Regions from separate parts of the Homo sapiens genome. Here regions 1 and 3 are each linked to region 2. The links are contacts of gene promoters, found by promoter capture Hi-C in blood cells and fetal thymus (Javierre and others, 2016). All regions are on one chromosome and are shown on one strand. The core of a region is centred on a gene start or on the middle of the fragment in contact, and the rest is flanking DNA. Distances in the headings are between cores, read along the strand shown. Region 1 has its middle 13 kb from the start of ACSL3. Region 2 holds the start of MOGAT1 (monoacylglycerol O-acyltransferase 1). Region 3 overlaps ACSL3 (acyl-CoA synthetase long chain family member 3).

Region 1 (4,032 bases), core at 944-3,443, 180 kb after region 2:
TTTTCTTTTCTGTCTTTTTCTTTTTTTTTTTTTTTAGAGGCGGGGGTCTCCCTATGTTGCCGAGGCTGGTCTTGAACTCCTGGGCTCAAGCAATCCACCTACTTTGGCCTCCCAAAGTGCTCAGATTGCAGCATCATGCCCAACCCTTTTTACTTGTTAATGTGCTGTCAGAACATTTTAAATTACATACTTATCTCCTATTCCGTCTCCAGTGAATGGTGCAGGTCTACAGCAGTTGGCTAGCGATTCTCAAACTTTCTTGTGTCTCTAAATCAACCCGAAAATCTTGTGAAAATGCAGATCTGGGTCACATAGGCCTGGGTGGGGCCTGAGATTCTGCAGTTTTAATATGCTTCCAGATGATGCTGATGCTAATTCTGCTGTTCCATGCAGCACACTTTGACTACCAAGGAACTAGAAGATTTATGAAGATTAAACGTGGATTGAAATATGTGATTAAGGGCTAGGCATGGTGGCTCACCCCTGTAATCCCACCACTTTGGGAGGTTGAGGCACGTGGATCACTTGAAGCCAGGAGTTTGAGACGAGCCTGGCCAACATGGCAAAACCCCATCTCTACTAAAAATGCAAAAATTAGCTGCCCATGGTGGTGCATGCCTGTAATCCCAGCTACTTGGGAGGCTGAGGCACAGGGAGAATTGCTTGAACCTGGGAGGCAGAGGTTGCAGTGAGCCGAGATGGTACCACTGTACTCTAGCTTGGGTGATAGAGTGAGACCCTGTATCAAAACAAACAAACAAACAAACAGAAAACTATCCCTCTGAAATATTAATAAGAAAAAACATATAGGAATAAACTCATTGTAGAAAGAATAACAAACTGAAAATATCGCAGAAGAAATCACTGAAGTATATGTAGCATGAGGATAGTTTTTCAGTTAAACTTTTAAGAAACAGTTTGATGTCTTGTGAGATATTTAAATGTTTAGCCAACATTGGTGTATGTACCCCTCTGAACATGTGCGTGTATGCACAGTTTTCATAGTTGAATTCAACAACTGTGTATTGGGAGAGACATTGTACCAATCACCACATTGGATGGATCTTAGGGATAAAGAAATGAAAGTGATGTGCTCCTTGTTCTCAAACAGCTTATCATTGTGTTACAGAAGGAAATAAACACAACGGACAGTAATACAGCACAAGAAGTACTAAGCTCAGGGTGGTGCCATCTGATATTTTGTTCCACTTCACCTTTCTACTGATAACTGTATTTTTCCTGTGGCGAATTCACACCTGCCTCCCCAGCTACATTCCCTCTCTGTTTTGGGGTGTGCATGGCTGAACTCCACCCTCCCTAGAATCCAGTGGTGGAGCAAGTGAGTTAGGCTGAGACAGACAGAAAGATTGAGTGACGGCCGGGCGTGGTGGCTTATGCCTGTAATCCCAGCACTTTGGGAGGCCAAGGCAGGTGGATCACGAGGTCAGGAGATCGAGACCATCTTGGCCAACATGGTGAAATCCTGTCTCTAGTAAAATAAAATAAAAAAAATAGCTGGCCATGGTGGTGCGTGTCTATAGTCCCAGCTACTTGGGAGGCTGAGGTAGGGGAATCGCTTGAACCTGGGAAGGGGAGGTTGCAGTGAGCTGAGATTGTGCCACTGCACTCCAGCCTGGTGACAAAGTGAGACTCCATCTCAAAGAGAAAAAAAAAAAAAAAAAAAGATTGAGTGAGGAGGGACACATAATCTCTCAAAAGAAATAAGATTTCTGGGAAGAGACTCTGAATTTCCAGTGAGATAGGAGTCTGAAGGGGCTTCTAGCCATCTTTCTGACATGGGGACCTCAGGCTGGAGCAAACACCAACACCAAGGAAACCGATCTGTGGAACAGACAGACAAAGCTGTTCTTTCTGATTCTTTTTTTTTTTTTGAGACAGAGTTTTGCCCTTGTTGCCCAAGCTGGAATACAATGGCACAATCTTGGCTCACTGCAACCTCTGCCTCCTGGGTTCAAGTGATTCTCCTGCCTCAGCCTCCCGAGTAGCTGGTTTCATGCGCGTCCGTGTGAAAAGACCACCCAACAGGCTTTGTGTGAGCAACATGGCTGTTTATTTCACCTGGGTGCAGGCGGGCTGAGTCCGAAAAGAGAGTCAGCAAAGGCTGGTGGATTATCATCAGTTCTTACAGGTTTTGGGATAGGCGGTGAAGTTAAGAGCAATGTTTTGCGGGCAGGGCTGGATCTCACAAAGTACATGCTCAAGGGTGGGGAGAATTACAAAGAACCTTCTTAAGGGTGAAGGAGATTACAAAGTACCTTCTTAAGGGTGGGGGAGTTTACAGAGTACATTGATCAGTTAGGGTGGGGCAGGAACAAATCACAATTGTGGAATGTCATCAGGTAAGGCTATTTTTACTTCTTTTGTGGATCTTCAGTTACTTCAGGCCATCTGGATGTATATGTGCAAGTCACAGGGGATGCGATGGCTTGGCTTGGGCTCAGAGGCCTGACAGCTGGGATTACAGGAATGCGCCACCACGCCCGGCTAATTTTTTGTATTCTTATTAGAAACGGGGTTTCACCATGTTAGCCATGGCTGGTCTCGAACTCCTGACCTCAAGTGATCCACCCACCTCAGCCTCCCAAAGTGCTGGGATTACAGGCATGAGCCACCGTGCCCGGTCTGTCTTTCTGATATTTTTGAGCCCAGTCTCGAGTGTTCCCTGAAGGCAGATATACTCCAGGGCTGTTTAATTTTGTAAGCCAATAAATTCCATTTGCTCAAGCAAGTCTAATTTACATTTTCTGTTCCTTGTAACCTAAGGAGACCTAACTGATAACATGTTACCTAAACAACAGATAACTGATAACATAGCTAATAACTGAGAACATGATACCTAACCAATAGATAACTGATAACATAGCTAATAACTGAGAACACAATACCTAACCAATAGCATAAACAAAACAGAGAGAATGGGAGGAGTAATTTTGCATGGGAGCCTCACAGACCGCTTGATATTTGAGTTCAATGCCTAATGGACCTGTAGATGATGAGACTGTATTCCTTGTTACATTTATGGATTCTGCAAATAGGGCAGGATTCCTAAAAATGTCAGGCCCGGTCCACAGGATACAACAATATGTTCCTAATCTCTGGCAGAGGCTCTCGAAAGCTGGAGGAATCTTGTTCGCACTATAAATATCAGCCACTTCCTCATTGGAGCTTAAATGTCACCTCTCTGATTTGCCTTCACTGACCTCCCCACCCAAAATTGTCTCTATTTCTTTTTCCCGAGTCATCTGTTTAAATGTCTGAAGAGCACTTTGATTCTGTAATTGTCTTTTAAAATAATATTGTTTGCCGGGCGCGGTGGCTCACGCCTGTAATCCCAGCACTTTGGGAGGCCGAGGTGGGTGGATCACGAGGTCAGGAGATCGAGACCGTCTTGGCTAACACGGTGAAACCCCATCTATACTAAAAATAAAAAAATCAGCCGGGAGTGGTGGCGGGAGCTTGCAGTCCCAGCTACTCAGGAGGCTGAGGCAGGAGAATGGCGTGAACCCGGGAGGCGGAGCTTGCAGTGAGCCGAGATCACGCCACTGCACTCCAGGCTCCGCGACAGTGCGAGACTCTGTCTCAAAAAATAATAATAATGTTTACTATTTTTATTTATTTATCATAATGATTTTATCTTAGAATATAAAATCCTTAAGGGTCAGAATCTCTTCAGTTTCCGTAAGTGCTATATCTGCAGTGTCTAGCATTCTTGTCTGGTGGCACTTACATTTTGTTGAATTGATGTTCAATTAATTAGGACATTGAATCCAGGCTTGACTTCCAAATATTTTCATTGATAGAGAGAAGCCACAGCAGTTCTAGAGAAAAGAGAAGTAAGTTCACTAAGGAACTTCAAATGAAATTAATATGAATGATTTTGGAGAACACTCAGGAACCATTTATGTATTTCACAATTATATAAAGGCTCTTTATTAGAAAAATGTAAAAAAAAAAAAAAAAAGCAACTGCTCTGTATTGTCACAAACTTCTAAATCAAAAGGAGAAACAAAG
Region 2 (3,928 bases), core at 1,349-3,848:
TCTCGGTGTTTTGCTCTTCTTTACCGACAGATTCGAAATCCAATGAATCAAAGAGTCCTACCATTTATATGTCCCATGCATATCTCAAGTCTATATTTTCCCAAGCTTCCACATCCTCTACAATCATCCTACAATAGCCTTCTTAGGGGATATGCCTACTTCCACTCTTGCTACCTCCAATCTGTTCTAAATAGGTGCCCATTATTCTGTATCAGCCTATGTGTTTCCTTCAGGGCACTGTCACACATTTGGTTGTCTACATAGGTAGGTATTTTCTGTTTCTCCCACTAGACTGTGAGCTGCAGCAGGACAAAGACTTTTCTTATTCACCATTGTAACTCATCTCCTTTCCCTACCCAGTGCCTAATACATAGAAAGCTTTCCACAAATAGTCAATAAGTAAATGTGTGTAAATTCTCAAAGGCACAGAGACCTCATCTTAATTCACGTTTGTGTCATCAGTACCAAGGACAATGCCCAAGGCAATGCAGGCACTCCATAAATGTTTGTTCTATGTTTGGTTCAGTTGATGAAGGGATGACTCGCCTCTCCAGGTTTTATAGAAATTTGAATCTTCTCTATTCTGCCATTTACCAGCTGTGTGACTTTAAGCCCTAATTTCCTCAGCTGCAAAGTTGAAGTGAATGCGTACTTTGTAGGGTTTTTGAGATTACGCCTGTGAGGTCTCTGCAGAGTGCCTGACATAGGGTGTGTTCGTAGTGTCCCCACCTAGCACTGGGGGAAGATTCAAGGAAGAAATCTAAAAGGAAAGAAGAAAGTGACTCCTTAAGTAGGAGGAAAAAGAAACCCAAACAAGTTTTGCATACAAAAAATCACAAACAACTCCTCCAAGTGGCCCTGGTATTTGTTTTAATCCAACTCCCTTTGTATTAAAATGTTGAAGGAGAAAAGGGCATAGGATGGGGGAGAAAGGAGGGCCAACTATATTGTTTTGCCCTGTTCCAAGTCCTCTTCAGCAATGACTTGACAGCTGCTCATCATTTTGAGTTTTTCAACTATGTGGTAATTAATATTTATAAATAAAGTGCAGTGGTTGCTCCCAAGGACTAGGCACTATTTAGAATCTAGCCATCCATTTAGCACATCGTAATTGAAACCCTTCAGTGTCTTGTACTGCTCTTGGGGTTCAAACTTGAACCCTAACTCAGTCTGCAAGGGTCTGGACCTTGCCCACCATTTTTGCCTGATGTCACCCCAATCTCACCCTTGTCCCCCAAGCTCTCACTCTTTGAGCTCTTCTTGGAGTTCAGCCACAGGACCTTTGCATATGTGCTTCCCTTTGCCCGGATGACTCCTGGGTTAACTAGATTTGGCTACAGCTCAAGTAAGGGCACTTCTTCAGACACTTCCCTGACCGTGCAGCAGTCTTGGTTTTGGAATCTTCTAGTCATTCACAGTAGGGTCTTACTTGTAATTATACACCAAATTGTGTAGTTGTTTTGCTTATGTCTGTTTCCCCCTGTACTCTGAGAACAAGACAATGAATAGCTTGTGTCAGGCCTCTGAGCCAAAGCTCAGCCATTATAACCTCTGTGACCTGCATGTACACATCCAGGTGGCCTGCAGGAGCCAAGAAGCCTGGAGCAGCCAAAAAAAACGCAAAGAAGTAAAACAGCCAGTTCCTGCCTTAACTGATTAACCAACATTACAACATTTTACCATTGTGACTTGTCCCTGCCCTACCTTAGCCGATCAATCGACTTTGTGACATTCTTCTTCTGGACAATGAGTCTTATGATCTCCCCACCCTGTACCTTGTGACCCCTTCCTCTGCTAACAATAGATAACCACCTTCTACTGTAATTTTCCATTACCTAGACAACTCCTATAAAGCAACCCCTTCCCCATCTCCCTTCGCTGACTCTTTTTCGGACTCAGCTGACTTGCACCTAAGTGAATAAACAGCCTTGTTGCTCACACAATGCCTGTTGGTGGTCTCTTCACACGGATGCGCTTGACAGCTTGGTTATCCAAGCGCCCGGATGGTGCTCAGCAAGTGGCAAGTGCTCAATAAATGTGGGTTGAATGAATGAATGGGTGAAAGATTCCCGGAGCTCCTGTAGGGAACTGAGGACCCAAGAGTGAGGAAGCCAGGTCCCCTTCCCCATCCGCGGGGAAATTGGAGGTTGCGGGGGGACACAGATCAATAAACTAAGAAACAAGTCTCGCTCATCTCTCCAGCTGGTGTGCGATTCCTCAAACTAACCCTTCCCCAATCACCGAGGGTTCGAATGAAGGGGTGGGATGCTGAAGGCAAGCGCTGGGTGATCGATCAGCTGAACAATGGTCAGATCCTGGTGGAGATCCCAGGTCCTCAGCCAGGCGGCAGGAGCCCGCGCTGCCCGGCTCGGGCTGGCTGCCAGTTGACCCCTCTCCCCGTCCCTCGTGTCCCACGCGGCGCACTCTCGCCAACGCCCGGCGCGCCAGCCAATGCGCCCGGGCCGCTGTAGCTGCTCCGGGGCCAGGGCGCTGGGCCAGCTCTGGCGCCCGGCGCTTGTGATTGGCTGCCCCCAGCCTCAGCCCAGCGCGCCCTCCCACCCAGGGCGCAGTTGGGTCCCCGCTCGCTGCCTAGCCTCTGCCTTTTCCTCTCCGCCCAGCCAGTGCCCAGCGCGGGGCCCGGATCCGGCCGGGCACTTCCCACAGGCGCCGCAGAGCAGCGTGGGTGCAGGCTGCAGTGGCTGGCGCCGTCCTCGCCCGGCCAGGCCATGAAGGTAGAGTTTGCACCGCTCAACATCCAGCTGGCGCGGCGGCTGCAGACGGTGGCCGTGCTGCAGTGGGTCCTGAAATACCTGCTGCTCGGTAAGGACCCCGCCCCCCGGGCCGCGGGGCTTGGGCTCCATATCCTCCCTCGGGACGGTCCGGATTCCAGGACCTGCATAGAACCTTCCAACCCTCGTTCCCCTGTCGGCCAGAGCAGGCAGGTCAAAGAGGGCATTTGGAGCTAACGTGGACTCTGGTTTCCTCACGAGAACCTCATCGCTAACGACTGTTTAATTTTATTTTCTCCTGCGTTACTTTTTTAAATTGAGGTGCACCTTGCCTACAATAAAAGGCGCAGTTATACGGATACAGCTCGATGACTTTTGGCGACTGTATCTACCAAAATGTAACCATGACCCCATCGAACGCATGAGCACTTTAACCCCTCAAAAGTTGGCAAACTCGTTTCTCGAACTGTTGATTCATAGATGGCAAAGTAATGCCTCAGTAGTTAAAACCTTGTTCCTTCTCCCTCTTTGTCTCCCCACCCTCCTGACAAAGAGCAGTGTTCCCTTTCCCGTTTTGGAGATTTCCTGGATGCATAGCAGTACCTTTCTGTAAAGAAGGCTGCACCACTCATTGCATTTGGTTGAGCGGTTTCTCTCTGGAAATAGTTTGACTCAGTAGCGTGTGTGTTCCAGTTGGTTCCCAAGTTGAGCCCATGAAACATACACGAGCCGAATCATTAGATGGGGCAAAAACGTGGGTGGTTTTTCTTTTTGTTTTTTGTTTTTTCCTTCATATTTGTTCTGCTCTTGAAGTAAATAGGGGTGATGTGGGAGGAGGGAGGAATTTGGGGGAGACCCTTCTATTGAAACATAAACTCTTCTGAAGACTAAGATCATGTGTATGCTGTAAGATCATGGATTGTACAGCGTTGGGGTGGTAATAATAGTAATAAGCCCATTGCATTGGAGAGTTTTACACTTTTAAAACTGCTTTTACATTTCGAAAGCCTGAATCAGTGGTTCTCAACCCTGGCTCTAGATGAGAATCACTGGAGAAGCTTCTAAAAAGTGCAGATGCCCAGGCTCCATCCTGGAATTTGTTTATTATTATTATTATTATTATTATTATTATTATTATCTTTGAGACGGAGTTTCACTCTTGTTGCCCACGCTGGAGTGCAGTGGCGCCATCTCGGCTC
Region 3 (3,829 bases), core at 1-2,500, 220 kb after region 2:
ATAAGTTAGTCTGTGTGTTGTTGATATTTGTAAGAATTTAAAACAACTGTCCTACTTTTAGGTCTGCTTTTTTTCGGGAGGGAGGCAGCAGGATATATAGTAAGTAAATGTTTTAAAACCATTCTCTTGAACTAGGTATCTAGGTATGTATTTTTATTATGTGTTTAGCTTTGGATGCCTGAGAAGCAAACATGTTTGTGAGAACCAGGGTGCCCCTCTAAAAAAGAAACTCTTTCCCGATAGTAAATAATAGTCTCTGGTTGCACTTTCCATTATAACTCTGAGAGATTAATTCTGGGTAGGAAATAGTTCTTTCTGCCCTTCTTGACCCTGGTTTCCTATTTCATAATACATGATTTGCGTCATTCATCTGGGACTCTTAAGTCTCTGTAGAGTGTGTATGACTGTCACCTAACTTTTGTGGAAAGGAGACTCTCAAAAGTAGTGTATTAAAGGATACTTTTTTCTCCCCAACAATAAGGTATTAACTATAGAATTTATTAAGAGAGTATAGGGTCATTAAAAAGTTTGGACATGCCTTGGAGAGACATGTAGGTTAATATCCTACCTTACCTGCTAGCTGTAAGTGCCTTTGGGGACAATCTATTTGAAATTGGGTTTTGTGAGAATTAAATGAGATAACATAAAAAGTTCCCTTCACTGTGCTTGTTTGCCTGCACTCAGAATTGTTTCCCATTTATTGCAAGCTTGGTGAAAAATTCCAGCCACATTTCATACTAGCAAATACGGATTCCTTGATATCCAGCATTGTGCAAGCCACTCATTTATACTTCATTAGAGATAAAATGCTAAGCCATATTATTATTATTGTTATTTGCAGATATGAACAGTTGTATAGTATTGGTGCCTGAGTGTGGTAGGCTGAAAGAAAAATACAGAGGAGGAAATCAGATTGAGTGGTGGGCAGGATTAACTGAGAAGTAAATTGTGGCATATCAAGATGCACCGTCTGCAGTATTTTCTCCTTTTCTGTCCTCTCTTCCCCCTGTCCTCATCCTCTGCTGCCTTTGACTTTGTGGGAGCATTTCTAAGTGTTGGGGCTCTCTGCCTGCTCTGCAAGTTGAGTTTTCAGATTCCTTTTCATGATGGTGGTGGATGTGAGGGGCATAAAATGTCTGCTTGCTCTGTCAGTAGGGTGTGAATATAATACCATTGTTGACTTCTTCCCTCCTTAGACAGTGTACATGTCTTAGATTCTGAGAGTGACTCCTGTTTTCTTTGTTCAGTCCATGAGTTTTGTGGAGGTTAATTTCACAGGTCTGCCAATTTTGGGTTGAGTTACCATGTTGTATCTCTCTTGCGCCTAAGAGATTCTTGAAACCCCAGATCTAAGCAGGTAGAACCATTTGATACGTTAGTCTGAAAGTGATCCCTGTGGCAACCTACTTTTTTCCTGTTTTTCTCTTAGGAAAACACGTCATCTCTGATAGAAGATTTTCTTCCTTCTCTTTTCTTTTCTCTTTTTCTTCCTTCTCTCTTCTCTTCTTTTCTCTCCTCTCCCTTCCCCCGCTTTCCGCCTCCTTTCCCTCTCCTTCCCTTCCCACCTCTCCCCATCCCTCCTCTGCCTCTTCTCACCTCACAGGGTTGTTTTTTCTCACAGGGTTTCTTTCTTTCTGACTTTGTCTTTTCACAAAGTCTTGCTCTGTTGCTCAGGCTGGAGTGCTTTGGTGTGATCACAGCACACCACAACCTCAACCTCTGGGCTGGAGAGATCCTCCCACCTCAGCCTCCATTGTAGCTGGGACTACAGTCATGAGCCACCGCTCCCGGCAAGAAGCTTTCATATGAGCATTTGTAGCAATTTTTGTTTTGAAAAATTGGGAGTTGTTACAGGGCATTTGACTATGATATTAATAATATTATTTAATAGCAATTTTTAACATAAAATTTTATTTTAACATCCACTTCATACCTTTTGGAAGTATATCATTTGAAAGTGATTTCCTGGCTGATGGTTAAGCTCCGTTACTTTACTTACATTTGTTTCATAACACAAGATCTGAATAACACAAAATCCTGTCTGGTCTCCTTTTCCTTCAGTCTTTCCAAGTCACCTGTGTTCTTCCTCTCAAATAATAGAGGTCATACAGAGAAGAGATCTTCCTTGTGCTTGATCATTCTGATTTAAAACAATTGCTAATTAAAATATAAGATGTAAATAACTCTTTGATCTAATGCAACTGACCATTGGCATAGAACATTTTAAAAAACACATTTCAAGTGTTTGAACCTAGCTATTTATCACACAATTTTATATTTCAAGATTTTGTTTGCTCATCTTTATTGTATAAGTAGTAATAGGTCATTTTCTTTTAATGCTGTTAAACTTAATTCATCTTGTTATTTTAATTAGCAGTTGTGAGAGTTTAGTGAAGTTGGGAGTTGTTAAATTCTTCATGGTGAAAGATTAATGGACTTAGACCTGCATTTAAATATTCAGGGATAATTTCTTAAAAACCTTGACTTGCCTATATCTTTTTCTGTAGTCAGGCATGAAGCCAGGCATGCCCGTGTATACATTCTTCTCAGTTGGCAAGGTATCATAGAAGTTCTTCTAGGTCAATGCATGTACATGTAGCTTACTTTTAATGGCTGCATAATAGTCTGTTCAATGGGTATATATGTTTTTCAGGCATTCTTTGATTAATGAATCTTTAGATCATTTTCTATTTTTGGTTTTTTGCCACTGAAACAGTACTGCCATGTCTCCCAGGTGTGTGTGTGTGTCTTTCCAAGTTTTATCTTCAGACTATGTTACTACTAGTTGCAGTTAACTACTCATCCCCAAATCTGTAAATATGTCTTCCTGTGACCCTGACACTACTCTGTCGTGATTCTTAGTGATTTCAATATCGTTCTAACACTGTGGTCTTATTATTTCATACTCCAGCCTGCCTTTGCTATTCCTTTTCCATGACCATTCATTCTGCCACTCTCCTAGATGACTATTTTATACTTTCTCCTTAATTTTCTAATACCTTCCTTTCTGCCTCCCTCACATCCAATGATTTTGCTTATTACTCTGAGAAAATAGAAGCACCCAGAAGAAAATCTTCTGCAAGCTCCTATTCCTGCACATCTGTGTCCCTGTTTCTCCCACCCTCTCTCCTCCTCCAGAGGTGTGGCTCTCTTCTGCATAATACTTTCCTCTGCTGGTTCATAGCTATCAGTCTGCAGACAAGCTCTACTATTTATGTTAAAAACAAAAGAACCTCTTTTGTCCTGGCCTGTTACCATTACTTTGTTCTTTTTTTTTTTTTTTTTTTTTTTTTTTTATTGATCATTCTTGGGTGTTTCTCGCAGAAGGGGATTTGGCAGGGTCATAGGACAATAGTGGAGGGAAGGTCAGCAGATAAACAAGTGAACAAAGGTCTCTGGTTTTCCTAGGCAGAGGACCCTGCGGCCTTCCGCAGTGTTTGTGTCCCTGGGTACTTAAGATTAGGGAGTGGTGCTGACTCTTAAGGAGCATGCTGCCTTCAAGCATCTGTTTAACAAAGCACATCTTGCACCGCCCTTAATCCATTTAACCCTGAGTGGACACAGCACATGTTTCAGAGAGCACAGGGTTGGGGATAAGGTCACAGATCAACAGGATCCCAAGGCAGAAGAATTTTTCTTAGTACAGAACAAAATGAAAAGTCTCCCATGTCTACTTCTATCCACACAGACCCGGCAACCATCCGATTTCTCAATTTTTTCCCCACCCTTCCCGCCTTTCTATTCCACAAAACCGCCATTGTCATCATGGCCCATCCCCAATGAGCCGCTGGGCACACCTCCCAGACGGGGTCGTGGCCGGGCAGAGGGG

The links. The method cuts DNA at HindIII sites, captures the fragments that hold promoters and counts their contacts. A CHiCAGO score of 5 or more calls a contact.
Region 1: a contact is called between a fragment that was not itself captured here and the fragment with the promoter of MOGAT1 in region 2, in 1 of 17 cell types (neutrophils). The highest score is 6.9, in neutrophils.
Region 3: a fragment that was not itself captured here is called in contact with the fragment with the promoter of MOGAT1 in region 2 in 10 of 17 cell types (M0 macrophages, total B cells, naive B cells and 7 more); the score reaches 8.2 in M0 macrophages.

Annotation. Positions count from the first base shown.
Region 1 is chr2:222,845,909-222,849,940 of GRCh38, forward strand. No RefSeq gene overlaps it. Among named protein-coding and RNA genes, the nearest start is that of ACSL3, 13 kb to the right of the region's middle. The HindIII fragment of the contact is 5,305 bases long and covers 1-4,032 here.
Region 2 is chr2:222,669,060-222,672,987 of GRCh38, forward strand. It overlaps MOGAT1 (monoacylglycerol O-acyltransferase 1), which reads left to right and starts at 2,599. Exons shown (of 6, transcript NM_058165.3): 1 at 2,599-2,820. The coding sequence starts at 2,727. It overlaps LOC124907985 (a long non-coding RNA gene), which reads left to right. Exons shown (of 2, transcript XR_007088095.1): 2 at 1,577-1,943. The HindIII fragment of the contact is 3,409 bases long and covers 377-3,785 here.
Region 3 is chr2:222,892,203-222,896,031 of GRCh38, forward strand. All of the region lies in intron 2 of ACSL3 (acyl-CoA synthetase long chain family member 3), which reads left to right. Among named protein-coding and RNA genes, the nearest start is that of ACSL3-AS1, 25 kb to the right of the region's middle. RefSeq lists a silencer at 3,066-3,266. The HindIII fragment of the contact is 1,091 bases long and covers 706-1,796 here.